Regions from separate parts of the Homo sapiens genome. Here all the other regions are linked to region 1. The links are contacts of gene promoters, found by promoter capture Hi-C in blood cells and fetal thymus (Javierre and others, 2016). All regions are on one chromosome and are shown on one strand. Each heading gives the region's core, a stretch centred on a gene start or on the middle of the fragment in contact. The rest is flanking DNA. Distances are from core to core; before and after follow the strand shown. Region 1 holds the start of TMEM215 (transmembrane protein 215). Region 2 has its middle 8.8 kb from the start of NDUFB6. Region 3 overlaps APTX (aprataxin). Region 4 has its middle 27 kb from the start of NDUFB6. Region 5 has its middle 32 kb from the start of APTX. Region 6 has its middle 50 kb from the start of APTX. Region 7 has its middle 73 kb from the start of APTX.

Region 1 (3,998 bases), core at 937-3,436:
TAAAGTAGCCTACAAATAAGTGACCAGGGAGATAGGAAGAAAACTAGGATAGAATGGTGTCAGTAAAAGAAACGGTTTTAAGAAGGGAAAACTTTTCAATAATTGTAACACACGTAGCGAGCTGCTTCCCCAGTATTTAAAAGGAGCAGTATGCTGCTCCTTTTAAACAAAACCCTTTTTTCAGACCATCAGTGGATCTGGTAAATAAATAAACAACAATTTCCCAGGTACCTTTGTATCCCAAAGCTCATCCATCTCTGGTCAATTACAGGCAGATGCCTATCTACTTGGGGGGGCTGCCAGGAAAATTATTATTGTCCTCATACAAGTGGCCAAAGAACTGGCACCTCACTTTTACCCTTTGCATTTTCTCCTTTCTTCCCTCCTAAATGATTCTATGCCTAAAGGTGCAGCAGCTGTCTAATGGTCATGAGTACAAAAGATACAAAATAGATGATGGAGAGGAAAATGAGAAGGATCTGCTTCCTGATCCACCCCTTTGAAAGTGAGAAAGTTGGGAGTTGACCTTGGCTCCTCCCTTCATCTCACTTCACTGTGCTCCAAGACACTTCACTCAACCCTTAAATACCCTCAGATCTGCTTCCTTCCAACTCCTCTACCAGCCCGACATTGTTAAGGCCACATCATGTCTTGCCCGGCTTACTGAACTTCTCAGCTTACTGAACAAGACTCCCGGCTTCCAGACTTACCAGCTCCAACCTATGCTCTCACCTGCCGCCCCTTTCAGTCAAACTGGAATGTTTTTGTATTGATCTTTGCTTAAAATACATCAAGCGTTCTTCATTGCCTAGTGGATAAAAAGTCCTTAGTCTCACAGCCTTTATGATTTGTTTGGCTCCTGTCATACATGATGAAGACACTAATTATGATGACAAATATATATACATATACATGTGTACGTGTGTGCATGTGTGTGTAATTTTTGTACACAGACTATGTACCAAGCATTGTGCTAGGAACTTTACGTTTATTTAATCCTCACAATGTTTCCTCATATATTTGGTATTAATCTCATTTTACAGATAGGACGACTGATTCTCAGAGAGGTTAAGTCACTTGCCCAGGAATATACAGCTAGTTTAACTGGGGAAGGCCTGGATGTGAAAATTCTTTCCAGTAAATCAGTGTCTTGACATGAAAGCATGTACCGCTCATCAACCTGTTCTCCACCGCCCTCCTCTATCCTAAATGGGCAGCCCTGTTGAAGAATCACAGCCAAAGCCAGTCTTGCCCCCCGGGGCCAGAGGAATCCATCTGCCCCTGCCTACCAGAGCGGGAGGAACGCAGGCTCTCAATGCCTGCTTCAGCAAGGGAGGAGAGAATCGCCCAGAGCTGAGCGGCGTCGTAGGGTGGTGGTCCTGACCGGTCAAGGCCCCTTCTCCTCGTGAACTGGGGGCCAGGGAGCCCTTCTCCCTGTCCCCCCGGCACCACAGCGCTGTAGAAGTGAAATCCCGGCTCCAAGGTCACCCTCTCCCGAGCCTGGAGCTGGAAAGCCACGGGGACTCCGGGGACTCCCCCAAGGCCCGGACTAGCCTGGCACCCACCCCTCACCACTAACCCACTCCGCCTGGGCGCTGGTTCTGTGCGCTCCCGCGGCGCAGTCGCTCCGCTGCAAGAGCGCTTTCGCGCGCCGCCACCGCCCAGAGCCGGGACCAAAGCAGTCCTCGGGCACCGGCTCCCCGAGGGACACACACCCCCCCGCGCCCCGAGTCGAGGGGTTGAGAGAAGGGCGGTCGGGGAGCCCCTGGGCCTGCCGTCAGTCACCCGGATTTGTAACTGGAGAAGGGTGCGGGTCCCGGAGGGACATCTCCAGCTGGCACCTAACTCCTCGGATCCCGGACTGGGAGCCCGAGCTCGGATATTGCAACGGCTGCCCCGTGGGCAAACCGACCCTGGTTTCCGACTCCGGCCACTGGCAGCCTCGCGCCCCAGACCCTTCCCGGGCACGGAAGCGGGTCAGGTCGCCCTGCTCAGCCTCCGGAACGGCGGCGGCACAAACCCCGGCCGCTCCCAGCAGCCCCGACGAGACCCCGGGCAGCGCCTGCCGCCGGGTGGCCTCCCTCTGGGGCTGACCCCCTCGCGCCCCCGCGCGTCTGTCTGCGTTTCTGAGCCTGCTCTGACAGTGATGTAACAAGGCCAGGCTCGCGCCGCGTCCCCTCTTTCCCAGACTCAGTGCTCCCTCCTCCTCCCGCGCCCCGCGCTCTGCGCGCTGAGCTGGCGCCGGGCTCCGCTTGCACAGCACCGGGACCGACGGGCACTGCTGGGAGAGCCGCTCTCCCAGGTTCCACCTCCCCGATGCAGAGTCCGTGGGGGAAACCAGGCTTTCCTCCCAGAACCAAGGGAGCGAGCCGAGGGGGCAGCTGCTGTGGGGGCTTCTGAGGAGACAGCCTGGCTTCTTTCCCTACTTCCTGGAGAGGGCAGGAAACCTCAGGTACCTCGTTGACCCCAGCCGGAGCGTGTTGATATGAGAGAGAGACGGAGGTTGCAATAGTGAGAGGAAGAGAGGGAGGGCACAAGAAAGGGAGGGAGGGAGAGGGGACGGAGAGAAAGAGTAGAAATAGAAACAGGGAGAGATTGCAAGAGAAACGCAGAGAGAGAGATAGAGAGATTGCAAGAGAGATACAGAGACAGAGATCAAGACTGAAAGTCAAGAAGCAAGTCGGAGACAAAGGGCAAGAGAAAGACAAGAGTTGATGGGTGGGAGCTTGACTTGGATTTTTTTTTAACGCACTGTGGTTTCATCTCTGACAGAATAGAGGAACGCTGCTCCCTGGTCAGCAAGCAGCCCCCAACCTGGATGGAGTGAAACATGCGGCCTGATGACATTAACCCGAGGACTGGGCTGGTGGTGGCCCTGGTCAGTGTCTTCCTCGTCTTTGGTTTCATGTTCACCGTCTCTGGGATGAAAGGGGAGACTTTGGGAAACATCCCCCTCCTGGCCATCGGGCCAGCCATCTGCCTACCAGGCATCGCAGCCATTGCCCTGGCCAGGAAAACCGAGGGATGCACCAAGTGGCCAGAGAACGAGCTGCTGTGGGTCCGCAAATTGCCCTGCTTCCGGAAACCCAAAGACAAGGAGGTGGTAGAGCTGCTGAGGACCCCTTCAGACCTAGAATCCGGCAAGGGGAGCTCAGATGAGCTGGCTAAGAAGGCGGGCCTCAGGGGGAAGCCTCCCCCACAAAGCCAGGGTGAGGTGTCCGTGGCCAGCTCCATCAACAGCCCCACACCCACGGAGGAAGGAGAATGCCAGAGCCTCGTCCAGAATGGGCATCAGGAGGAGACGTCCAGATACCTGGACGGCTACTGCCCCTCGGGCAGTTCCCTCACCTACAGTGCCTTGGACGTCAAGTGCTCAGCAAGGGACAGATCTGAGTGCCCTGAGCCTGAGGATAGCATCTTCTTTGTGCCCCAGGACAGTATCATCGTTTGCTCCTACAAGCAGAACAGCCCGTATGACAGATACTGTTGTTATATCAATCAGATACAAGGCAGGTGGGACCACGAGACCATCGTCTAATCTCTGCCTACAAAGGTGGCTGGATTGATAGAATATGACTAAGCCCAGCTCCCCGTGGAAGCAAATTGCTCTGCTTGGAGAGCCTTCACACTGTTAGAAATTGACCTGGTATGTGATGGGTGTGATAACCTCTGGTACCCGAGAGTCATGTAAATAGGCATGTTGGGGACACATTTTAGGGAAGGGCGATGAGGGTTAAGGACACTGGAAGAGGCAGTGGGTAGGAAAGGAAGCTACTCCAGTTGCTTCTTAACAATTTACACAATGTTAAATGTTTTGTAAAATAACCCAAAAAGTGCTATCCAGAACCAGCTGAGAGCAAGATAAATCTAGAGTGGGCTGCAGATGTGAGGCATCAAATGATGCATGAGCTGACCACAGGGAAACTGAGCTGCTTTATGTTTGAATAAGTTGAAAATAAAATTAATGATCCGTTATATAAAGTAATTTTTGCCTGGTT
Region 2 (3,998 bases), core at 945-3,444, 200 kb before region 1:
GGAGCTCCTTATACAACACCAAAATGATACATTGAGATAAATCTAGATTGTAGGAACTGCATATAAGTGATTCGGTTTCTTATAAAATATATTGAGTAAAAAGAAAGGAGAGAGAGGAGAATCCATAGATTAAAAGAGACAGAGGGAAATTTAAACATTACCTCGATATATTAGGGAATTGTCATTAATTTTTTTGTGTATGATGATTTGTGGTTATATTTTTGAAAGGAAGTTCTAATCTCTTAGAGATCTCTTCTGAAATATTTATAGATGAAAGGGTAAGAGGTCTGAAGTTTACTTCTGAATAATTGAGAAAGGAGGAAGAAGGCATAGAGAAATAAGACTAGTAATAAGTTGGCAACTGTTGAAGCTATCTGATAGCTAAATGGGGGCTTATTATAGTCTCTCATATACTATTTTGTAAATATTTAAAAATATTCTAAATAAAAAAATTTTTTAATTATGCCTTGAGGCTGGGCACAGTGGCTAATCTCATTGCTTTGGGAGGCTGAGACAGGAGGATTCTGTAAGCCCAGGAGTTCGAGACCAGCCTAGGCAACATACTAAGACCCGCCCCCCCACCCCCCACCAAAAAAAAATGCCTTGAAGTAGTAACTAAACTGTGTATTTAAACTATTACTAATCCTCAGTCTGTCTTATTACATTTTGGACTAAAATTTTGCAAACTACTTACATTGGAACTCTCAACTTTGTTATGGTGAGATCTGAACAATTGATACTAAAGGGAGAGTAAGCCCCTGAGTGCTTAAACATCACAGGAAATACTATATTTAGGTTCCCAATTGTTACCGAGTGCAGGCTCAGCTGCTCACCACTTGCAAAGCCAATAACAAAGATGAACTACAGCTAAAGGAAAGTTACTTTATTCCAGAGCTAGCAGTGGAAAAATGGCCAAAGCTAGTGCCTTAAAGAAACCGTTTCAGCTTTCTAGGTCAAGGGTAAAGGCTAAAGGGGAGTTTGGTATGATGGGCATGCAGGAGTGGTGATAGGGGTCAGCCTATGTGACTTGTTCTGATGACTATCTTGAGCTGTTGCCCCATCTGGTGTGTGGGCTAGTGCCATCTCTGGGACAGCCAGGTTGCAAATTAACTGCAGCCTTGAAGTAATCTCCAGGTGGGGGAGAATCCCACAGTAGACTGAATTGCTTTAAGATTTAGTCTCTGGAACTTCTAAACAAACACGTAATTAGATAAGGGAAACACTGTGCAAAGGGGTGCCTGGGAGAAAGAGTGAGAGCAAAGACTATTATCTCATTGTTAAAGGCAAGACAAGGAACGGGCAGGAAAGAGAGAGAGAAAAACTTTTAAAAACAGGACACTTAGTTACACAATGAGTCATTTGATAACCCAAATGTTTCCTTTGCGAGTGGAGTTAAATACATTTAGTATTTCTTGAATTTGGAACCATCATTCTGGCTTACTCTGGGAAATTACTACATCCTCCCCACTCCCCACCACTACCACATTTGAAAATAAACATAAATAAAATCAATATTGCTTAGAAAAATATACCACTGGCTACTGATGACCACATTTCCATCCTTTCTCACTTATCTCTGGCTGTGAAACTCATGAGGCTGAGTTGAATAAAAAGGGAGCAGTGAGAGACCGTGTTCAGCTTAGCACAAGCAGAAAATGTGGACTCACAAATTCAGATAGTCTGCAAGACCTGGGTAACTACTGGAGACATTCCCACCAGAGGGCACTCTAACTTGCTGAAAAATTAGAAATACAGGTAAATTGCATTTTATCTAAGGCCTCAGTAACCAGCCCACAAAACTCAAAGGAGCTAAAGCACAGTGGGCAGGGAAGAGATGGGGCCAGGAAATAAGATGAGGAGGTGTCTTCTGTCAGTAAGGTTATGTCTTAAACTTTGGATCTGTCTAATAAGGGTCTACACCTCCAGCTATGTTTTTAAAAGCCAGTAGGGTGCTTCATTTGTCCCCTGGCAGAGTGTACTAATTGGGGCACACAGGCCGTGGATTTCAGAGGCTGTGGAGAGAAGACAGCTTTGAGTGCAAGACCTCCCCGTCAGACTGAGTCTGCAACCAGGAATGGAGATGGGAGTTCCACATCCAAGTTCCCTTTCCATTGTTCAGTCAAAAATTTAAGAGCCTTTGTCCTATCTTCATTTTAAGCACCATTTGTCCCACATAATTGAAAAAAAAATTAATTCCTCCAGAAATCCCTTTATCTCCCTGTAAGATTCTTTTTTTAGCAAAAACAAAACAAAACAAAACAAAACAAAAAATATATATATATATAGCTTCACCCAACCACACAAGACATTATTATTTTCAAGGGGACAAGGAGGCAAACTTGCTCATGTTGATCAGAAAAATCTGTGAAGATGCACAAGCGAGGGCATTCTCTTACAAATCCCTACTGTGGAATTTTCTGGTCAGTGTTTTGGAGATACACAGAAACTAATGGCATCAGCAATTCATGGTGGAGTTTGCTACTTATAGGGCAGACGGTCACACACAGTGTACCAGAGACGGAGTTTTGAGCTGCACCTTTAGTTGAATATTAGTTTCCATCTGGGGAGCACAATGGGCTTGACTACCACTGTCTTCTTATCCTTCTGATATTAGTAGAGCAGAATCACTTGTCTGACGTCTTAAACATTTAGTAGTCTAAAACAATATTCATTTGCTCAAATTTGACTTCTAGTTGGACCCCAGCGCTCTCAGTGGCAAGTGGTGCGGTGCCAGTGAAACTCTCTTCAGAAAGAGCAACTGATTGGCCCGGCGCAGTGGCTCACGCCTGTAATCCCAGCACTTTGGGAGGCCGAGGGGGGCGGATCACGAGGTTAAGAAATCGAGACCATCCTGGCTAACACGGTGAAACCCCATCTCTACTAAAAATACAAAAAAATTAGCCGGGCGTGGTGGTGGGCGCCTGTAGTCCCAGCTACTCGGGAGGCTGAGGCAGGAGAATGGCGTGAACCCGGGAGGCGGAGCTGGCAGTGAGCCGAGATCGCGCCACTGCACTCCAGCCTGGGCGACAGCTAGACTCCGTCTCAGAAACAAAAGCAAAACAAAACAAAGGAAAGAGCAACTGATTAAAATCACTAACTTTGTAACACAGGAGCCCTCGAGTTCTCTGCAAAAGTTTCTGAACTTTGTGTTTTCATTTCAATGATGATTTTAAAACTCTGGCGTGAGTATATTCTAGATCACTTGGATAACCACCTTATAACCAAATACCCAAACCGTATGAGTGTTTACAATTATGTGGGAGCCAAGAGGAGGCCCTGTAATGTTCTGGCACTTTATATGAATAAAGGTTTCATAGTCGTTCAGATGTAGGGAGGTAGTGAAGACAGTCACCTCGTAGCACACTTCACATGACACTTCCTTTAGTAGGTGAGGTAATAAATAGGCCAAATGGAAAAGCATTTATTATGACTTTTAATTGTTCTAATATTTTATTACTATCGCAACTTGGAGGGTGCTATGAAGCAGATCAGCTCTTCAAAACAATGAATTGGTTCAAATGATTGTCATTATTTAAAAGGAAAAATAGAAAAATGCCCGTGACTCAAATAATGTTCCAGTGTGTTCAAAGTCAATGCAATACACAATGAAGCATAAAATCTCCAAATGCATCTTTCCACTATTCAACCCATACCATTGTTTTTGTTTTATGAAAACATTATTCCTTGAATTTTATTAGTTTTATGCTTTTGTTTGCACTTAACTTGAAAATTAATTTCAGTTTTATAGTTGAAACAAACTATACACTGAGTGTATATGTAATTTGATGATTATGAACACTTAAAGGAATAAAAATAATTTAACACTGGAGATATGCAATAATTTTTTGCTCCTCTAAAAGGGATTATTATATTATTTAACTTTGAAAAACACTGTTATAACATCATATAAGTTTATTTTTTCTATAAAGTTATTAATAATCAACAGGGAATAAACTAAAGAAAACCAGAGTAGGCATATAATCAAAAGCTCAGCTGCA
Region 3 (3,998 bases), core at 712-3,211, 200 kb after region 1:
CTGTGTGACACGTACACGTGGGTTCCAGTGAGCCCTATTAGACCTGCCCCTTGTCAACAAGGAATATAATTGAAGTGGGACTCAAAGGCTCCTCAAGGATGATGCCTGTTTTTTTTTTTTTTTTTTTTTTTTTGAGATGGAGTTTCGCTCTTGTTGCCCAGGCTGGAGTACAATGGTGCAATCTCAGCTCACCGCAACCTCCACCTCCCGGATTCAAGTGATTCTCCTGCCTCAGCCTCTCGAGTAGCTGAGATTACAGGCATGCACCACCATGCCCAGCTAATTTTTTGTATTTTTAGTAGAGACAGGGTTTCTCCATGTTGGTCAGGCTGATCTCGAACTCCTGACCTCAGGTGATCCTCCCGTCTCGGCCTCCCAAAGTGCTGGGATTACAGGGATGTCTGACTGTTAATGCCAGGGCAGCACAGTACTACTGTCACAGTGTATTATCTCTGATGCTCCCCTGAAAGGAACCATACTAAGGTTAATGCAACTTCCCTTAAAGTACCCAGAAGTTTAAAAGGCACAAGGCAGAGGGGATATTCATTTGAAGAACTCAGCTTTCTCTCCAAACAATGACAGCTGCTACTTTATTGCCAATGTGAAAAGCCTCTTGTTCTCACAGAACAGCCCAATAAAATGAATCTCATTCAGAAAGACTGATATCCTTTGATTTCATTTGTAATTAAGACCTCTGTGGAGTGGTCATTTACAACATGAAATGTACTGAAATTCCAAAATTGTATTCTGACCTGCATTTTGGGGTCCTGCATAGAAATCTTCAAGCCTTGACTCCAGTGGCCCAGGGATTCCTAAAAAAAAAACAAAAAAAAAAACAAAAAAAAAAAAAAACAAGCAATGTAAATTACAAATGCCAATAATTAAATTTGGCAACAGTTAATACTGTGTGATAGCACAACTAAACTTGGAAATAAGCTTAGTTTTTGAGAATTAAACAAGATTCACTTGACTCTGCTTCACTCCATTGCCTTCCTATATTCTCTTTTTTTTTGAGACAAAGTCTCACTCTGTCTCACCCAAGCTGGAGTGCAGCGGCGTGATCACTGCAACCTCCGAAGTGATTCTCCTGCCTCAGCCTCCCAAGTAGCTGGGATTACAGGTGCCCACCACCACGCCCAGCTAACTTTTGTATTTTTTAGTAGAGACGGAGTTTCACCAGGTTGGCCATGCTGGTCTTGAACTCCTCACCTCAGGTGATCCACTGGCCTCCACCTCCCCAAGTGCTGGGATTACAGGCGTGAGCCACCACACCCGACCCTATATTCTTTCTTTTTTTTTTTGAGATGGGGTTTCGCTCTTGTTGCCCAGGCTGGAGTACAATGGCGTGATCTCGGCTCACTGCAACCTCTGCCTCCCGGGTTCAAGCGATGCTCCTGCCCAGCCTCTGGAGTTGCTGGGATTATAGGCATGCACCACCACGCCCAGCTAATTTTGTATTTTTAGTAGAGATTAGGTTTTGCCATGTTGGTCAGGCTGGTCTCGAACTCCTGACCTCAGGTGATCTGCCCATCTCGGCCTCCCAAAGTGCTGGGATTACAGGCGTGAGCCAGCACACCCAGCTGTTTTTTATTATTGTTGTTGTTTTTTGAGATGGAGTCTCGCTCTGTCGCCCAGGCTGGAGTGCAGTGGTGCAATCTCAGCTCACTGCAACCTCCGCCTTCCAGGTTCAAGCAATCCTCCCGCCTCAGCCTCCCGAGTAGCTGGGATTACAAGCATGTGTGTACCACCAGGCCCAGCTAATTTTTGTATTTTTAGTAGACATGGAGTTTCACAATGTTTGCCAGGCAGGTCTCAAACTCCTGACCCTCAAGTGATCTGCCCACCTCGGCCTCCCAAAGCGCTGAGATTACAGGCGTGAACCACTGCACCCAGCCAGCCTTCCTATATTCACAGCTGGCTGTTCTAAATGAAGGCGAGAAATGCCAGAGTATGAGTCATACCTTCTTTGCCCTCTCTCACTGCAGCTACAGCCTGACCAATTCTCCACTTTGACATCAGCATATGAATTACATGATCTATGAAAACCTTCTATAGATGCATAAACAACTGATCCACTTTAGTTGTTCAATGTTAAGTACACACTGCCATTATTGTTGTACCTTCAGGTGGCTTACCTCAGGAATTTAAGAAAAAAGCACATAAAGGAACATTCATCCAAATGATTTTCACGCCACAAACAAGTGACTCTTTCATCATGGTTAATAACCCCTCACGCATTTCTGAACTTTAAAGTGTACAAAACAATTAAGCAGTCATTATATTTCATTTCTTCTCCACATCATCTACCAATCACACTACCCTCACCTTTTTGATAGGTGCATCTTTTCCCTTCTTTAGGGGCACAGAGCATTGGCCAGAGTTGCTCCCAGGTTCCAGCCCTGTCCCAGCCTCAGCTTCCTGAGCAGCATCCCTTTCTATAGAATCACTGTTGCCTGATCTCTTTCTCTTCCTGTGTGTTTCCAGGCCAGGGTTCTTTGCCTCTTCCTCAAACTCTACAATATATGGATAAAGTTCATTCACCATGTGGAGAACCTGGCCAGGCTGCAGCTTCACCTCTTGGTCCTTCCCAATTACGACTGAGTCAATGCTGGTGGGATTGACTCCTACCTATGGAATAAACAATCAGAAAATAATTATAATAATAGCAACAGCACCTACAGTAAGATAGCCACTGCTATGTTAACCACTTACTATATGCCAAGCACCTTGCCTTATGTTCACCTATATTACTCCATCACTTCCATACATGACAGAGAAGCCTTCACTGGCTGGCACAGACACTCTAAAGTCAACAGCATAAGAAAATCATCGAGTATAAAATTCCAAGTTATAAATACACCTACCTGCTTTACCTTGACATATCCCTTGTTACACTCTGCTTTCAACTGTACTGAAAGAGATTGGAAAAAGTTAAACACAAATGCAACAAAGAACCAGGCACTTGCTCCTATCTTCCCTAAAGAAAACAAGCTTCACTACAGGCGGCAGCTGAACAGGTGGTGTTTCCTTAAAGGCCTATTAGCAATCACCTGTTATTGCAGGTGGCTGGAGCTCCAAATCCTACCAATTTCTAAAGGTTTAAATCCTTCCATAAAATGTCCAACAGCGTACATACTCCCTTAGCTATTGCCAAGATCCCTATGAGGCAGCTTCAATTAATCCCCACAAGTTTCCCTATTCCAGAACCCCTGGCCTGCTCATGATCACAGACTCTGCCGCCAGAAAAGAAGACCTGTTTCTCCCAGCCTGGGCAGCATGGCAATACCCCGTCTCTACAAAAAAATACAAAAATTAGCCAGGTGTGGTGGCACATGCCTGTAGTCCCAGCTACTTGGGAGACTGAGGTGGGAGAATCACTTGAGCCCCAGGAGGTGGAGGTTGCAGTGAGTCAAGATCGCACCACTACACTCCAGCCTGGGCAACAGAGTGAGACCCTATCTCAGGAGGAAAAAAAAAAAAAAAAAAAAAAAAAAAGATCCATTTCTCACACGAACTCTTGACCAAGGATTAAATCAGGCTTCCACTATTATTTTGGAAAAACAACAACTATTAGATGCTTTAAAAGATAAAACAGTAAAAGACACATTCCTGGAAAACAGAAACTCAGGTGGCTTTGGGTAGAAGGAGTGGAAAGAATGTTCTAGAAAGATGATTGCAGAGACAGAACAATCTGAGCATGTGTGAGAAGTGGTAACATTAAGCATTCCTGTTCTGATAAATGAACAAGGTATCTGGAGTTGAGACAGGGAGGAAAGAAGAACCACCATAGCTGCTCCCCAGAGAGGACAGGGTGCCACATACATGCCCCTTCAGTTGCTGTTGTGAGGAAGGGAACAGAGAGAGAAGCAGCCACTGCTTCTGCATCTTGGGCCTACTCAGCTCAAGCATGGCTTTGTATCCCTCCACTTAGATTAACTCATATAGGAAAGATCATAATCAGTGCTGCAGATGCCAACTCTCTAAGTTCAGAACCCTTG
Region 4 (3,998 bases), core at 458-2,957, 180 kb before region 1:
AATCACATTACCTGACTTCAAATTATACTACAGAGCTATAGTAACCAAAACAGCGTGGTGCTGACATAAAAACAGACACATACACCAGTGGAACAGAATAGAGAACCCAGAAACAAATCCACACATCTACAGCAAACTCATTTTCAACAAAGTTGCCAAGAACATATGCTGGAAAAAAAGACAATCTCTTCAATAAGGGGTGCTGGGAAAACTGGATATCCATAGCAGAAGAAGGAAACTAGACCCCTATCTCTCACCATCTAAAAAAAAAATCAAAATGGATTAAAGCCTTAAATCTAAGACCTCATACTATGAAACTATTACACGGAAACATTGGGGAAAATCTCCAGAACTTTTGGTCTGGGCAAAAATTTCTTGAGCAATACCCCACAAGCACAGGCAACCAAAGCAAAAATGGACAAATGGGATCACATAAAGTTGAAAAGCTTCTGCACAGAAAAGGAAACAATCCACAAAGTGAAGAGACAATCCACAGAATGTGAGAGAATATTTGCAAACCATCCATCTGACAACAACTCTATAGGAAAAAATCTAAATAATCTGATAAAAAGAATCAGGTAAAAGATTTGAATAGACATTTCTCAAAAGACATACAATGGCAAACAGGCATATGAAAAAGTGTTCAACATCATTGATCATCAGAGAAATGCAAATCAAAACAACAATGAGATATCATCTCACCCCAGTTAAAATGGCTTGTATCCAAAAGACACGCAATAACAAATGCTAGTGAAAATGTGGAAAAAAGGGAACCCTTATAAGCTATTGATGGGAATGTAAATTAGTACAACTACTATGGAGAACAGTGTGGAAGTTCCTCAAAAACCAAAAATAGAACTACCATACGCTCCAGCAAACTCACTGCTGGGTATATACCCACAAGAAAGGAAATCAGCATATTGAAGAGATATCTGCACTCGTATGTTTGTTGCAGCTTTTACAATAGCTAAGATTTGGAAGCAATCTAAATGTCCATCAACAGATGAATGGATAAGGAAAATGTGGTACATATCCACAATGAAGTCCTTGAGCCATAAAAAAGAATGAGAGCCTGTCATTTGCAACAACATGGATGGAACTGGAGGTCATTATGTTAAGTGAAATAAGCTAGGAACAGAAAGATGAATATCTCATGAATATCTCACTTATTTGTGGGACCTAAAAATCAAAACAATTGAACTCAAGGACAGAGAGAGTAGAAGGATGGTTACCAGAGGCGGGGAAGGGTAGTGGGGGGGTGAGTGCTAAGGAGGAGATTAATGGGTACAAAAAAGTTGGAAAGAATGCATAAGACCCAGTATTTGATAGCCCAACAGGGCGACTATAGTCAATAGCAACTTACTTGTACACGTTAAAACAACTAATACAGTGTAATTGGATTGTTTGTAACACAAAGGATAAATACCTGAGGGGATGGATACTCCATTCTCCGTAATGTGGTTATTTCACAGTGTATGCCTGTATCAAAACATCTCATGTATCCCATAAATATGTACATCTACTATGTACCCACAAAAATTAAAAATTAAAAAAAAATTTTTTAAAGATCCCAAGTTTGTGCCAGGCACTTTATGTATACAAATACAGCAAATTTAGAATTATTGATATCATGTAGTGAAGAAGGAAACTCAGTCCTAAAATTTTGTTATCATGCTGAAAGTTTTGAAATTATCAGCATGTTGTCTTATTCCTATTCAAATCAATTGTTTTCATTTCTCGATGATAATACTTTTATTATTATTATTATGTCAAGCAAGTGATCTCAGTTTCCCTGATATAAATATTTCAAAGGCAGTAATGACATGCCAGATAAAAGAATAAGGTTTGAGGGCAGCGAGTCCTGTGTTCAGATTCCATCAAATATTAATCAGTTGTGTGAACTTACACACAAAACATATTTTAATTTTCTGAGCATCAGCTTTCTAGTTTTCAAAATAAGAATAATAAAAGTACTTACATCATAATTTTTAAGAAGATTAAGGGAGCTCTTGAACATTTAAAATAGGGAACATCAAATAGGTAGTTGGATATATGAGACTAGAATTTGGAAGAAAAATCTGTGTGGGTGATATAAATTTGTGGTCATATGCCTGTCAATAACGGAAGCCAAGTTGTGAATGGCACTACCTAGGAAAGAAGTATACAGAGATGAAAGGGCAAGGCCTGCAACTGAACACTGATTCCTTAATTGAGCTTCCTGAGCACATCAGAGTAGCAAATTTTGTGATGAAATTTGAAACTATGAGTGATTGTCTAGGTGGAGAAGGAAGGAAGGAGTATTTTGATGGTGACCAGCAGAAGAGGTCTAAGGCAACACAGAATATTCTGGGAGAGGTGGTGGCTAGGGTATAAGAACACTGCTGCTAAGGGAGATGGGAAGTAATTAAGACTCAGAAGCAAACAGAAGAGGAAGCTCCCCCAGGGAATTAAGAGTTATACAGTTGGATGTCTAAGGAAACAGAACAGCATCTTTCTTGCGAGGACTGAGCCAGGCTACTGGTAGGAAGGGAACTCAAAGAGCGAACTCCAACACTTTTGGTTGGAGACCTTGAACCAATGTGCAGAACAGACATGGCTTATGTCTGACATTGATGGGGGTGGGGTGGAAGCAGGCAGAGCAGGGGTATATTAAGTCTCTAGAAGATACATGGTCCTGGTACTGTCTTCACTTCTACTTTTCTGCCACTATGGAAAGAGTAGTTGAAATTCTACAAGCTGAGAGATTTCATATCTACCCAGACCTTAAGACTTCCTCAATAAAGTTTGGCAGATGGCAAATACAGAGCATGATCAGACCTGTGGAAATCTACCCAAAAGCCAGATGTCACCTCCCCTGTGTCCTCTGATTCCCGCATCTGCTCACACTGCTCAGCCTCACTGCATCAACCTGGATGCAGAACTCAGCACCTCTCCTAGTCCTGCTGCTCTCCACCAAATCCAGCCACAGAAAAGCTTCAGTGAGCAATGTTAATTTCCCTGAAGACTCTGTGGGTCCTGGAGGAGAAGGAGGGGACAGGAAGGGTAGCTATATCATACAACCTGAAGAAAACAAGGTAAAAACTGACATTCTATATTTGTACCTCCACAAATCCCTTCCTGGTTTATCCTCTCTAGGGATTTTTATCCCTGAATCCTCCCAGATTTCACTGCTTAATTCTCTCCCCTAGATTCTTGATCATCCTACCCCCAACTCCTGCCTTCATTTTCATTTTTTTTCCTTCCCTTTCTTACGCAAGCAATTTAGCCACTTCCCTCAATTCATAAACTTACAGACCCCAGGACATCATGATGCTCTGCAAAACAAGATACTCTACAGTAACAAAATTCACCCTCCTAAAGAAGCAGTTGGGGTAACAAACAATAATTTGTTGATGTTTTGTATAACAATCTGAAAAAGTAAAATGATATTAGCCGTGCCACCTCAAGGAGCACCTAGTTTGTGCCAGGTGCTTTATACATATACAGGTACAGCAAATTTAGGATTATTGATATCATTCATAAAGAAGAAAAGTCAGCTCAGAGAGATTAAATGTATAACCTGCCTAAAAACACAAACTCAAGGAGGTGGCCCAGGATCAAAGCCTAGTTTTAACACTAAAGCCCATGACCTTTCCTATGCTGCTATATATTTTCAAGAACAGTTTGCTGGCAAATAATTATTTAGCTTTAAGCCATAAATTACTCAACCTAAAGATCTACAGTGTTGTAAGAATGCAAAGTGAGCCTGAATTGAACAAAACAAAACAAAAAACAATATGTAGGGCTATGAACAAGGGATGGGAGTGGAGGAGAGACTATGATTTTTGTGTACTTCGAATGTATCAGGTTCTGTGGTCCAGTATTTACATACTTTTTCTCTTTTACTCCTTCCAACAACCCTGTGAAGCAGAGATTGTTATGTTCATGTTAACCGTCTCTCTCTCCGTCTCTCCTCTGTGGCTCATTTGCAAGGTTGACATGACATCTATTTTAATTTT
Region 5 (3,998 bases), core at 822-3,321, 190 kb after region 1:
TCAACCTTGGCTCTAGCCAACTTATTATTTTTTTTAATAGAAAGAATGTTTTTTGGGGTTTGTTTGTTGAGACACAGTCTTGATCTGTCACCCAGGCTGGAGTGCAATGGCACGATCTCAGCTCACAGCAATCTCTGCCTCCTGGGTTGAAGCGATTCTCGTGCCTCAGCCAGCCAAGTAGCTGGGATTACAGGCGCGTGCCACCACACCTGGCTAATTTTTGTATTTTTGGTGGAGACAGGGTTTTGCCATGTTGGCTAGGGGCTAGGCTGTTCTCGAACTCCTGACCTCAAATGATCCGCCAGCCTCAGCCTCCCAAAGTGCTGGGATTATAGGCGTGAGCCATCGCGCCCAGCTTCCAGCCAACTTTAGAGTCTATTTCACCTCTCAGCCAAACAGCCTCCCAGTCAATCGTGTATGTTTTGTATTTTGACCCACACACTGGTTTTCCCTCAAACTTCTATCTTAATTAGGAGATACGTTAAACACACATCAGTCTTATTTTAAAAGCCCCTTAAATATTTTATTTTGAAGCATTGATTCTGAAACATAAGATACTTTATAAAAGGGCTTCAAAAACAGCTTTGTCTTGTGGAAGACAATTAAAAATTTATTGTTCAAATGCTGCCATCTGGTGGCCAAACATGGCAAGCCCCGAAAATAGACCATTCACAGAAAAGATACGGAAAACCCCAGTTTCCCTAATCACTTGCTTTGTTAGCAAAGATTTGGAAAATTCTGTGGAAAAATATTAACATGCTTATGTTCCACTAATTCTAACCTGTAAGATATACTTTTTTCCCATAAACAATGGCAGTAAGATGTTTATCAGAATGTTTCCAAAGTCATATGAAGGAAAAATGAAGAAGGCAAGAAAAAATGTTTAAATAAAAAAAATTAAAGATCAACACCTGTGAAAAAAAGGGATTTAAAAAATAAAAATAACTGTTTCTAAGGGCAAAGATGCAGACTCACTGGACAACATGCTTGCCAATCAAATTCAGATGTAACAGAAAAAGTTATCTTTTCTACATCCATTCCAAGTGTATTGACACAGGTGTCATTCACTCAACGAAATTTTATTGCAAGGCTGTTTTGTTCCATATTCTTTTAATTTCGTTGGGTACATGATGGAGAACCAAAAAAACTACCTTTCCTAGAGAACCTCATGAGAAACAGGGACCCCACACCGTAAGATTGTACGTACGGTTGCACCCTATGTGGCCCTCAGTCTCAAGTGAGTGTGAGCTAAAAGCTTCTGCTTGCAGGGCATGCCTTTTCTCATTCACATAAAGGGGACATAGAGGCTTTGAGCTACTGCGGGGATGTGGGGGATTCAGATACCTATTGGGGCCTCCCTCCCACATCTTGGGTCTCTTTCCTAATGCCTGGCCAGCTGGAGGGAACACATTTTAGTATTTGACCTATTGACCCTCTTGCTTTGTCATGAACATCTTCCACTTTGTGGGTTCTCGAAAGCAGTCCTAGTCTCTGAGCAATGTATTTGTAACCTAGAGAATGCCTGTGATTCAGCTGCTCAACTGGCTCTTCAGACATCCCCAGATGCCCCCTTCTCTGCCCTGGGCCCAGCTTCCTACCTCCAGAATGCAGCTGGGGAAAGAGCCGCAAAGGCTGGTGGTCTGGTGACCCAGGACATGGAGGTGCCTCTGGACCCTGGCAACTCCAACTAGCATTCTAGGAGGACCTCCCACAGTTTCTGGAGAAGATTCTACAAAAGGTCTTTGGCCAGTAACTAATTCTTCAATGTGAATAAATGATAGTTTTTTTCCTCCAATAAATGTCAAACAGTACTAGTTGGGGGTGGGGGCAGTGGGTTGTGTCAGCTTTCAACTTGTGGCTGCCAGAACTACAATGCTTCTTCTTGGTTGGTAAAATATTTAAAAAAAAAAAAAAAAAAGCCTGGCGCAGTGGCTCACGCCTGTAATCCCAGCACTTTGAGAGGCTGAGGTGGGAAGATCACTTGAGCTCAGGAGTTTGAGACCAGCTTGGCCAACATGGTGAAACCTCATCTCTATTAAAAATATAAAAATTAGCCAGGCATGGTGGTGGGCGCCAGTCCTCCACAGTGACCTGAGACCCCTCCTGTATATCCCAGATGCATGGTAATGACCCTTTTCTCTTGAGATTCTTAAACTGGGGTCCACAGACCCTATGGAAGCACGTCAGTGGCTCCATAAATTCCCTGATAACATATACAAAATGTGTAAATATTCATTATGCTGAAGAGGTTTCACGGCTTTCATCACATTTTTAAAAATTAGTCTATGGTAGAATCTTCAGAGCCCTGCGAAAGTCTCCCTCCAAGTTGGAGTTGTTGGAAGCAGAGGGAAGCATTTAGGCCAACACTGACAGATGAGTCCTAACTCTCTGATATCCAGCCATGTCCAGTCTGTGTGACTATCAGATGCCAGGCTCTAGAAAATATCCCTGAATCTAAAGACATCCTTAACTACCATCTCAAGTATGATCTAGTCCCTACAAGGACCATTTGTACCTGGGTATCTCAGAGACAGGCCCAGAGAAGGAAAAATACTTACGCTCTGAGCCTAAGGCTGGCAGCGTTCATTACAGGTCCCAGACCAAGCCACTGGACTGATCTCTGGGCATGAAGAGGGAACGGGAGCAACTGAGGGGAAGTCATCTCCAGACATGGCTCCTAAGAGCCTGGGGCCAAAGGAGCTCTGCCAAACTCCTGAAGAAAGGAAGGGCTGATCCCTGTAACGAGGGACTCCCCTTCAGCTAATGCCGGAGGTCTCCCCAGACTCTGAAATAACCCTGACACAGCAGAGGGAAGGCAGACCTATGACAGGCCCAGGCAGCTAACCAGAAAATGCTATTTGTGTCCTGGCAGGGAACAGCCAAATCCATAAGCTTCAGAAATGCAAGGTGCTTTGAAGCCAAAGGTTCATTTATATTGTGGTTCTCAAACATCAATAAAATCAAGTTCATCCTGAATGGTTTAAAATGAAGATTCTTAGGCCCTCAGGATTGTGATTCAGTAATTATTTGGTAAAGCCCAAGTGCTTACATTTTTTTAAAGGGAAACCAGTAATTCTGATCTAAGGAGTCCATGGAGTACATATTTAGAAAGTTTCCAGGGGCAGTAAGGCTTCAGATGCAGAGAGAGGCATGGATAAGGTGAATTCCTCTTTCCCAGCCTCCACTGAGATAAAAGCAGAGGCTTCCAGTTACCATTTATTGAGTCTTTCTCTATGCAAGATACTATGCTAAACCCTTTACATAGATTATTTAATCCTTATAACTCAACTCTGTTATGCTCATTTACATATGTGAATTCCAAAGTTCAGAGAAAATAAGTAACTTGCCCAAGATCCCTCAGCTGTGAGTAGCAGAGCCAGGACTGGAACCCAGGTCTGAATCCAGAGCCTGTTTTTAACTAATATGCCCATGATTTTTTTTTTTTTTTTTTTTTTTTTTTTGAGATGGGGTCTCACTCTGTCACCCAGGCTGGAGTGCAGTGGCACAATCTCGGCTCACTGCAAGCTCCGCCTCCTGGGTTCACACCATTCTCCTGCCTCAGCCTCACAAGTAGCTGGGACTACAGGTGCCCGCCACCATGCCCGGCTAATTTTTTTTTTGTATTTTTAGTAGAGGCGGTGTTTCACCATGTTAGCCAGGATGGTCTCGATCTCCTGACCTTGTGATCTGCCCGCCTCGGCCTCCCAAAGTGCTGAGATTACAGGCGTGAGCCACCGTGCCCAGACAATTTTCAAGAGTTTCTGTGCCTGGTACCTGATGACAGCAAATAAAAGGCTATGAAGCCACATGCCCTCTGCAGCTGGGTTGGGGAAGAACGTCCAGGAGCCACAGTGTATGTAGACAACCACCTCAGGAGACGAAGCAGACAATCAAGCAGGCCCAAAGGTCCAGCATCAAGCCAGATAGAAGAACTATGGATGGATGGACTAATGACCTAAGGATTACAATCCTGGAGTGCAGAAGGAGCAGAGAAAAGA
Region 6 (3,998 bases), core at 687-3,186, 170 kb after region 1:
CTGTTTTATGGTCTTGAGTCATTTAAATCCTTGCAGTGCAAAGAGCATGGACCAGTAACATCAGCATCACCGTCTGACAGCTTTTAAGAAATACAGAATTTCAGGTTCCACCTCAGACCTATTGAATCACAGTGTGCAGTTTAACAAGATTTCCAGGTGATTCCTATTGATGTTTGATATGTACTGGTTTAAATAACACTGTATTACCTGCTTTTTAAAAAATAGTCAGGTCACATTGAGCTGGGAAATCACCTGGCACCAGCTCTTTTTTAAGGATAGAGCTATAATCATTTCTCCAACCTCTTATGGTAATGAGTCTGTTCAAGTTTTCAGCTTCTCTTTATGTCACTTTTATTCATTTATATTTTGCTAGGAAATCCTCAATATTTCCAAATAGTTAGAGTTCAAGTTAACACTCTCTCTCTCTCTTTTTTTTTTTTTTTTTTTGAGACAGTTTTGTTGCCCAGGCTGGAGTGCAGTGGTGTGATCACAGCTCACTGCAGCCTTGACCTGCTGGGCTCAAGCAATCCTCCCACCTCAGCCTCCCAAGTAGCTGGGACTACAGGTGTATGCCATCTAAACCCAGCTAATTTTTAAATTTTTTATAGAGATGGGGGTTCTCCCTATGTTGCCCAGGATGGTCTCAAACTCCTGGGCTGAAGCAATCTGCCCACCTCAGCCTCACCAAGTGTTGGGATTACAGATGTGAGCCACTATGCCCAACCAACATTCTCTTTAAATCATTTTTAACCTTTTCTATTTCTGTGGTTATGCGTGGGGAAAAGAAAGAGAGATCAGATTGTTACTGTGTCTATGTAGAAAAGGAAGACATAAGAAACTCCATTTTGATCTGTACGAAGAAAAATTGTTTTGCTTTGAGATGCCGTTAACCTGTAACTTTAGCCCCAACCCTGTGCTCACAGAAACATGTGCTGTATTGAATCAAACTTTAACGGATTTAGGGCTGTGCGGGATGTTTCTTGTTAACAATATGTTTGCAGGCAGTATGCTTGGTAAAATTCATCACCATTCTCCATTCTCGATTAACCAGGGACACAATGCACTGCGGAAAGCCGCAGGGACCTCTGCCCAAGAAAGCCTGGGTATTGTCCAAGGTTTCCCCCAACCGAGACAGCCTGAGATATGGCCTTGTGGGAAAGACCTTACCATCCCCCAGCCCGACATCCCTGAAGGGTCTGTGCTGAGGAGGAGTAGTGAAAGAGGGAGGCCTCTTTGCAGTTGGGATAAGAGGAAGGCTTCTGTCTCCTGCGCATACCTGGGAATGGAATGTCTCGGTTTAAAGCCGACCATTCCCATTCGTTCTATTCTGAGATAGGAGAAAACCACCCTGTGGCTGGAGGCGAGATATGCTGGCAGCAATACTGCTCTGTTACTCTTTGCTACACTGAGATGTTTGTGTAAAGTGAAACATAAATGTGGCCTATGTGCACATCCAGGCACAGTACCTTTCCATGAAATTATTCATGATACAGATTCCTTTGCTTACATGTTTCCCTGCTGACCTTCACCTGTTGCCCTGCTACACTTGCCTTGCTAAGACAGTAAAAATAATGATCAATAAATACTGAGGGAACTCAGAGACCAGTGCCGGTGCAGGTCCTCGCATGCTGAGCGTGCCGGTCCCCTGGGCCCACTGTTCTTTCTCTATGCTTTGTCTCTGTGTCCTATTTCTTTTCACAGTCTCTCGTCCCACCTGACGAGAAATACCCACACGTGTGGAGGGGCAGGCCCCCTTCAGTTATGTCTCTTTCTTACTCAAAATATCATATAATTGTGCTTTCTTTTTTCTTTAACCTGGTTAGTGATGAGTTTATTTACTTTATTGCTCTTTTCAAAAAAACCAACTTCTGAATTTAAATAACTTTTTTTTTTTTTTTTATGAGACAGAGTCTTGCTCTGCCCAAGCTGGAGTGCAGTGGCGCAATCTCAGCTCACTGCAACCTCCGCCTCCTGGGTTCAAGCGATTCTCCTGCCTCGGCCTCTCGAGTAGCTGGGATTACAGGCGCGTGCCACCACGCCCAGCTAATTTTTGTATTTTTAGTACAGACGAGGTTTCACCATGTTGGTCAGGCTAGTCTGGAATTCCTGACCTCGTGATCCGCCCGCGTTGGCCTCCCAAAGTGCTAGAATTACCAGCATGAGCCACTGCGCCCGGCCTATATGACCTTTTGGTACATAGTTTTTGCTTTCTATTTTGTTAATTTTGGCCTTAATTTTGTAACTTCCCTTTTCCTAATTTCTCTTGGTTAAATTTCTCTTTATTTTTTACATATTTTTTCTAAGTTCTTAAGATGAGTTTATCTTCAGTCTCTTGTCTGTACAATGAAAGCTATTTAAATCAATCTACTTTATTCTGAAAATAGCTTTTGCTATATCCTACAGATTCTTGTATAAAATGTTAGACTTTACATTACTAAGCGTGCAAGTTCAGCATTGATTTCTGTAATAATCCAAAAGTTATCTGGCAGTATAATTCTTCACATCCAAATGGTCAAGATTTTTAGATACTTTTTAAATTATTAATTTATAATTTTAATTATGTTCAAATACTGTGGCCTGTATTAGTCCATTCTCACACTGCTAATAAAGAACTACCTGATGGTCGGGAGCAGTGGTTCATGCCTGTAATCCCAGCACTTTGGGAGGCCGAGGTGGGCAGATCACCTGAGGTCAGGAGTTCGAGACCAGCCTGGTCAACATGGGTGAAACCCTGTCTCTACTAAAAATACAAAAAATAAATAAATAAATAAAATTAGCCAGCCTGGTGGCATGCCCCTGTAATCCCAGCTACTCGGGAGGCTGAGGCAGGAGAATCGCTTGAATCTGGGAGGCAGAGGTTGCAGTGAGCTGAGATTGTGCCATTGCACTACAGCCTGGGCAACAAGAACGAAAACTCCATCTCCAAAAAAAAAAAAAAAAAAGAACTACATGAGACCGGGTAATTTATAAAGAGAAGAGGCTTCACTTGCTCCCAGTTCTGCAGGCTGTAAAGGAAACATGATGCTGGCACCTGTTCAGCTTCTTGGGAGGCCTCAGGAAACTTTCAATCATGTCAGAAGGTAAAGGGGACACAGGCACGCCTTACACAGCTGGAGCAGGAGCAGGGTGGGAGGTGTTACACACTTTTAAACAACCAGATCTCATGGTAACTCTATCAGCAGAACAGCACTAGAGGAATGGTGCTAAACCATTCGTGAGAAACTGCCCCCATGTCCAACCACCTCCCACCAGGCCCTACTGCCAACACTGGGGATTACAATTCAACATGAGATTTGGGTGGGGACACAGATCCAAGCCATATCATGGCCTGTGGTATACCTCTTCTATTTTTTAATGTATCAAGAATTGCTTAGGCCAGGTGTGGTGGCTCAAACCTGTAATCCCAACACTTTGGGAGGCTGGTGGGGTGGGGAAGGATCAGAATCACTTTAGGGTAGGAGTTTGAGACCAGCTTGGGTAACATAGTGAGACCTCATCTCGACAAAAAATTTAAAAATTGAAATTAGCTGGACATGGTGCCATGCACCTATAGTCCTAGCTACTCAGGAGGCTGAGGCGGGAGAATTGCTTGGGTCCAGGAGTTTGAAGTTACAGTGAGCTATGATCGTGACACTGCACTCCAGCTTGGGTGACAGAGGGAGACCCTATCTCCAGGGGAAGAAAAGAAAAAGAATTTCTTTGTGGCCAAATATGGGATCAACTATTTTAAAGGTACTATGATCATATGGGAAATGTGTATCTTCTCTATTCAAAGAATATAAAGATCTTTCTAGATCCTCTACACGTAAGTGTATGTATGCACGTGGGTGCACACACACACACAAATGTTTACTGAATTGCTCGATTCCTAAATGTCCTTATTTTTTCGCCTCCTGGATTCATTACCGGAAAAGGAGTCTTGATCCAGACCCCAAGAGAGGGTTCTTGGGTCTCACGCAGGAAGGAATTCAAGGTGAGTCACAGAGTGCAGTGAAAGA
Region 7 (3,998 bases), core at 497-2,996, 140 kb after region 1:
AAGGGATGCACAGATGGTGGGTATTTACCTCTGTCCCCAGACACTGACCTCCATGCCCCCGGGGCTGTGTAGATGCAGCTGCCTAAAACTTCGGATGAACTTGACTGGAACCACTCTTTCCTACGCATTTGCAAAAAAAAAAAAAAAAAAAAAGTATCTGTTTTGTTCGTAGACATTTCCATACTACAATTAAAGAAGAATGTGTTATCTATTTAGAGGTTAATTAAAGGCAACAGACAACTGGTGGAGGAGAGAGGTGGGAAAAGATGTTCAACTCAAAAAACAGATGGAGATCTGAGCATAGGTGTCTGAAATGACTAAGGAAATGTAAAACTGGGACAAATCTCATTGGTGCTAGAAATTAAGGAAAGGTACCATCCATGAGCCAAAAAATTATTCTAGAGATAATGATATTGGTAGCCAAAATGAAGAAAGGGGACAAAAGCCAATGTCCAACTGACGTCTCATAGAAAATTAGTGTGTCTGGTGGGAAGGACTTAGAGGAGAACCTGAATCCCCTCAACATCCACTCTCTCGGAGGAACTTTAGAGCAGTGGATCTAAGGGCCTAAGAAGGTAGGAGGGCTGGGGGCCCAGGGCATAAGCTTCAAACCAGAGCAGCAGCAGTGGAAGCAGGAGGCACATCTTCCCAGTGCAGCAAGGCTCAGCCCCGAGACAGCAACAGCAATGTCCAGAAGAGGCTGGGCAGGACACAGGGCATTTCCTTCCCTGAAAAAGCTGGCAGGAGCGTGAGGAAAAAGCCCGGCGGCAGCAAGTCTGACTCCCAGCACAGTCATTTCCTCAAACGAAGACGGTTGTGCCATATGTCCCACCAGGCCTGACCAAGGCTTAACAGCCTACACATTTCTCTCAGGCTGTGCCATCGCTGAGCAAGGAACCAGCCTCCAGCTCCAGTTAGGAGGGAGATCCTAAAAGCATCTAGAAGTGAGAATACCCAAGAAATATCCTTACAACACCATCTTGGATAGAATCTCATAGATCAAGTTTGAATAAAAACAAACAATAGCCGGGCACGGTGGCTCACACCTGTAATCCCAGCACTCTGGGAGGCTGAGGCGGGTGGATCACCTGAGGTCGGGAGTTCAAGACCAGCTTGACCAACATGGAGAAACCCCGTCTCTACTAAAAATACAAAAACTGGCCGGGCGCGGTGGCTCAAGCCTGTAATCCCAGCACTTTGGGAGGCAGAGGCGGGTGGATCACAAGGTCAGGAGATCGAGACCATCCTGGCTAACATGGTGAAACCCCGTCTCTACTAAAAATACAAAAAATTAGCCGGGCGTGGTGGCGGGCGCCTGTAGTCCCAGCTACTCGGGAGGCTGAGGCAGGAGAATGGCGTGAACCTGGGAGGCGGAGCTTGCAGTGAGCCGAGATTGCGCCACTGCACTCCAGCCTGGGCGACAGAGCGAGACTACGTCTCAAAAAAAAAAAAAAAAAAAAAATACAAAAACTTGGCCAGGCCTGGTGGTGCACATAATCCCAGCTATAATCCCAGCTACTCCAGAGGCTGAGGTAGGAGAATTGCTTGAACCCGGGAGGCGGAGGTTGCGGTGAGCAGAGATCGTGCCATTGCACTCCAGCCCAGGCAACAAGGACAAAACTCCGTCTCAAAAAAGAAACAATAGTAACTATATAGTGGGATCTGTTTTTTTTTTAATGTAAAACATAGAAATCCAGAAGCAATACATTAGCATAACATTACATAATATAAATTTGTGTTTCCTCCTTTTCTTTTCATCTTTTTTTTTTTTTTTTAAGACAGGGGCTCACTACATTGTCTAGGCTGGTCTTGAACTCCTGAACTCTAGCAATCCTCCCTCCTCAGCCTCTCAAAGTGCCGGGATTACAGGTATGAGCTACCACGCCCTGCCCAACCTGTTTCCTTCTTATCTTTTTCTCTCTCAAGCAGTAACAGGCTCTGTGCTTCCTTCCTTGTGGAGGTTTACGGCAGGGCAGAAAGCAGAAGCTGCTGCAATGCTTCCCTTCCTGATTGTTGGCTCCAAAACCTAAAGCGGTTGGAGATTTGCCAAATGTCCTGAGGGAGAAAAGAGTCTCTGAGGGAATAAGAAGGAACATGAGTATATTCCCTAAAACCAAGAAAAGATTCCCAGAAGCCTACAAGTAGATAAGACCACAGCCCTCTCACTGGCGAAGCCTGGAGATGTAAGCCCTCCAAGAGGAATCGCTGAGAGGTTCCCAGTTATGCCAAAATGCTGCACACGCCATGCCTGGCACAGAAACAGCAGACCTAGGACCGGAAGGTGCGGTGCAAGACGGCTCAGTAATAATCAGAACAGACTGAGAACCAATGCCTGGGGCTTCCACCCCAATGTCCTAAAGATGTGTGAGACCTCCTTTTTACCAACCTGGAATGAGAAAGTCCATTAAAAAAATTAAGTGAATTCCCACCAATCTAACAAGATGGGGTCCAGAGTCAAAATTCAGGCAAGGAACAGAGAGTTTTAAGTGTGATATTGCATGCATACCTGAGTATTCACTGTACATATGTTTCGCATATTCACTAAGTTTTTTTTAAAAAGTGAATTCAATAAAATATTAGTGCCTAAACAACTTGCCTACTTTCCTCTCTGTCGCTTTTTTCAAATTTGTGAAAGATGAAGCCTCTTGAGTTCAAATGTACATCCCTGGTCCCATCAGCCAAAGCCAGTGCAGGAGAGAGATGCCTCTGGTGTGCTGGGCTTGCCCCTCCAGGGTCCTCTTAAGGGCTGTGAGCAGGGCAGGCCCATATGGACATGTCTGGGACAAGGTGTTAAGGCAGCCGCCTGAGTCGGAAAAGAGTCTGGCTAAGAGCCAGACAGCCTAAAATGAGAGCAGGAAGAATGTTGTGATACCAGATATGTGATGACAAAAGCTTACAGAAAACTGGAAGAAATGCAGAGTAGAATCAAAACGGCAAAAAATTAAATCAATAATGTTTGGACAAATTTGAGATGCTTTCCCAGAAAGCTAAAGAAATAGAACAGAGATAAAATTATGAGAAAGAAAATAGATACCGAAAACAGACTGACGATCTAACATATGAAGAACGTATGTGCCTAAAGACCAAAACAAATAGAAAAGACAGAACAATCATATAAAGAAAGAGAAAAAAACCTGCCTGAACTAAAAAAGAAAGAATTACATCCTTAGATGAAAAAGACTCATTAGGAGCCAGGTGGAATTAAATGGCAAAAGACCAGCTTCCAGACATACCAAGATGCAAATAATGAACTCTAAGGTAAGAAATTAATCCTGGAAGCATCAAAGCAGCAAAAACAAAATTACCTACAAAGAAGAAAAGTCAGGCTAACCTTTGCCCACAACACAAAAGCTAGAATTTTAAGAGGGAAAGATATAATCCAACAGTTCCCCACCAGTTAAGCTGTGTTTCCCATGAAAAGCAACTTGTGCATGCTCAGACGTGCAAGGCCTTGGGGTTCACCACCACGCAACCTTCCAGGGAAACTCCTGACAGGCCTCGCTCCAGCCACAGATGGAAACCAGAGCATGGATGTTATGGAATAAAAAGACCGCAGTGAGCACTACAATCCTGTAAATGTAACCGTAAGTTCAAATTATTACAGATATTGCTATTTTAAAAGTCACTCTTTTTTTTCTGAGACAGGGTATCGCTCTGTCACCCAGGGCTGTAGTGCAGTGGCACGATCATGGCTCACTGCAGCCTTGACCTCCTGGGCTCAAGCCATCCTCCCACCTCAGTCTCCCAAATAGCTGGGACTAGAGTTGTGTGCCACCACACCTGGCTAATTTTGTATTTTTTGTAGATACGGGGTTTCACCATGTTGCCCAGGCTGGTCTCAAATTCCTGAGCTCAAGGGATTCACCCACCTCAGCCTCCCAAAGTGCTGGGATTGCAGGCATGAGCCACTGCACCCAGCCAAAAGTCACAAGAGAAGATACAGAGCATAAAAGAAATAGACATACACACAGATTAAATTCTGAATAATCTAGTAAGTC

Evidence for each region. Contacts are between HindIII fragments. The CHiCAGO score rates a contact against its expected background, and 5 or more counts as called.
Region 2: a fragment that was not itself captured here is called in contact with the fragment with the promoter of TMEM215 in region 1 in 1 of 17 cell types (M2 macrophages); the score reaches 11.1 in M2 macrophages.
Region 3: a fragment that was not itself captured here is called in contact with the fragment with the promoter of TMEM215 in region 1 in 1 of 17 cell types (M2 macrophages); the score reaches 7.4 in M2 macrophages.
Region 4: a fragment that was not itself captured here is called in contact with the fragment with the promoter of TMEM215 in region 1 in 2 of 17 cell types (M2 macrophages and M0 macrophages); the score reaches 10.2 in M2 macrophages.
Region 5: a contact is called between a fragment that was not itself captured here and the fragment with the promoter of TMEM215 in region 1, in 2 of 17 cell types (M2 macrophages and M0 macrophages). The highest score is 10.2, in M2 macrophages.
Region 6: a fragment that was not itself captured here is called in contact with the fragment with the promoter of TMEM215 in region 1 in 2 of 17 cell types (M2 macrophages and M0 macrophages); the score reaches 11.8 in M2 macrophages.
Region 7: a contact is called between a fragment that was not itself captured here and the fragment with the promoter of TMEM215 in region 1, in 2 of 17 cell types (M0 macrophages and M2 macrophages). The highest score is 5.4, in M0 macrophages.

The regions. Positions count from the first base shown.
Region 1 is chr9:32,781,354-32,785,351 of GRCh38, forward strand. It overlaps TMEM215 (transmembrane protein 215), which reads left to right and starts at 2,187. Exons shown (of 2, transcript NM_212558.3): 1 at 2,187-2,452; 2 at 2,773-3,998. The coding sequence starts at 2,831. The coding sequence ends at 3,538. It overlaps LOC105376017 (a long non-coding RNA gene), which reads right to left and starts at 1,553. Exons shown (of 7, transcript XR_929559.2): 1 at 1,290-1,553. The HindIII fragment of the contact is 4,873 bases long and covers 1-3,998 here.
Region 2 is chr9:32,580,005-32,584,002 of GRCh38, forward strand. No RefSeq gene overlaps it. Among named protein-coding and RNA genes, the nearest start is that of NDUFB6, 8.8 kb to the left of the region's middle. The HindIII fragment of the contact is 7,368 bases long and covers 1-3,998 here.
Region 3 is chr9:32,985,219-32,989,216 of GRCh38, forward strand. It overlaps APTX (aprataxin), which reads right to left. Exons shown (of 8, transcript NM_001195248.2): 3 at 2,865-2,911; 4 at 2,326-2,628; 5 at 753-812. Among named protein-coding and RNA genes, the nearest start is that of APTX, 14 kb to the right of the region's middle. The HindIII fragment of the contact is 2,055 bases long and covers 935-2,989 here.
Region 4 is chr9:32,598,422-32,602,419 of GRCh38, forward strand. No RefSeq gene overlaps it. Among named protein-coding and RNA genes, the nearest start is that of NDUFB6, 27 kb to the left of the region's middle. The HindIII fragment of the contact is 2,527 bases long and covers 445-2,971 here.
Region 5 is chr9:32,967,963-32,971,960 of GRCh38, forward strand. No RefSeq gene overlaps it. Among named protein-coding and RNA genes, the nearest start is that of APTX, 32 kb to the right of the region's middle. The HindIII fragment of the contact is 1,637 bases long and covers 1,254-2,890 here.
Region 6 is chr9:32,949,560-32,953,557 of GRCh38, forward strand. No RefSeq gene overlaps it. Among named protein-coding and RNA genes, the nearest start is that of APTX, 50 kb to the right of the region's middle. The HindIII fragment of the contact is 8,010 bases long and covers 1-3,998 here.
Region 7 is chr9:32,926,334-32,930,331 of GRCh38, forward strand. It overlaps the pseudogene BOLA3P4. Among named protein-coding and RNA genes, the nearest start is that of APTX, 73 kb to the right of the region's middle. The HindIII fragment of the contact is 2,288 bases long and covers 603-2,890 here.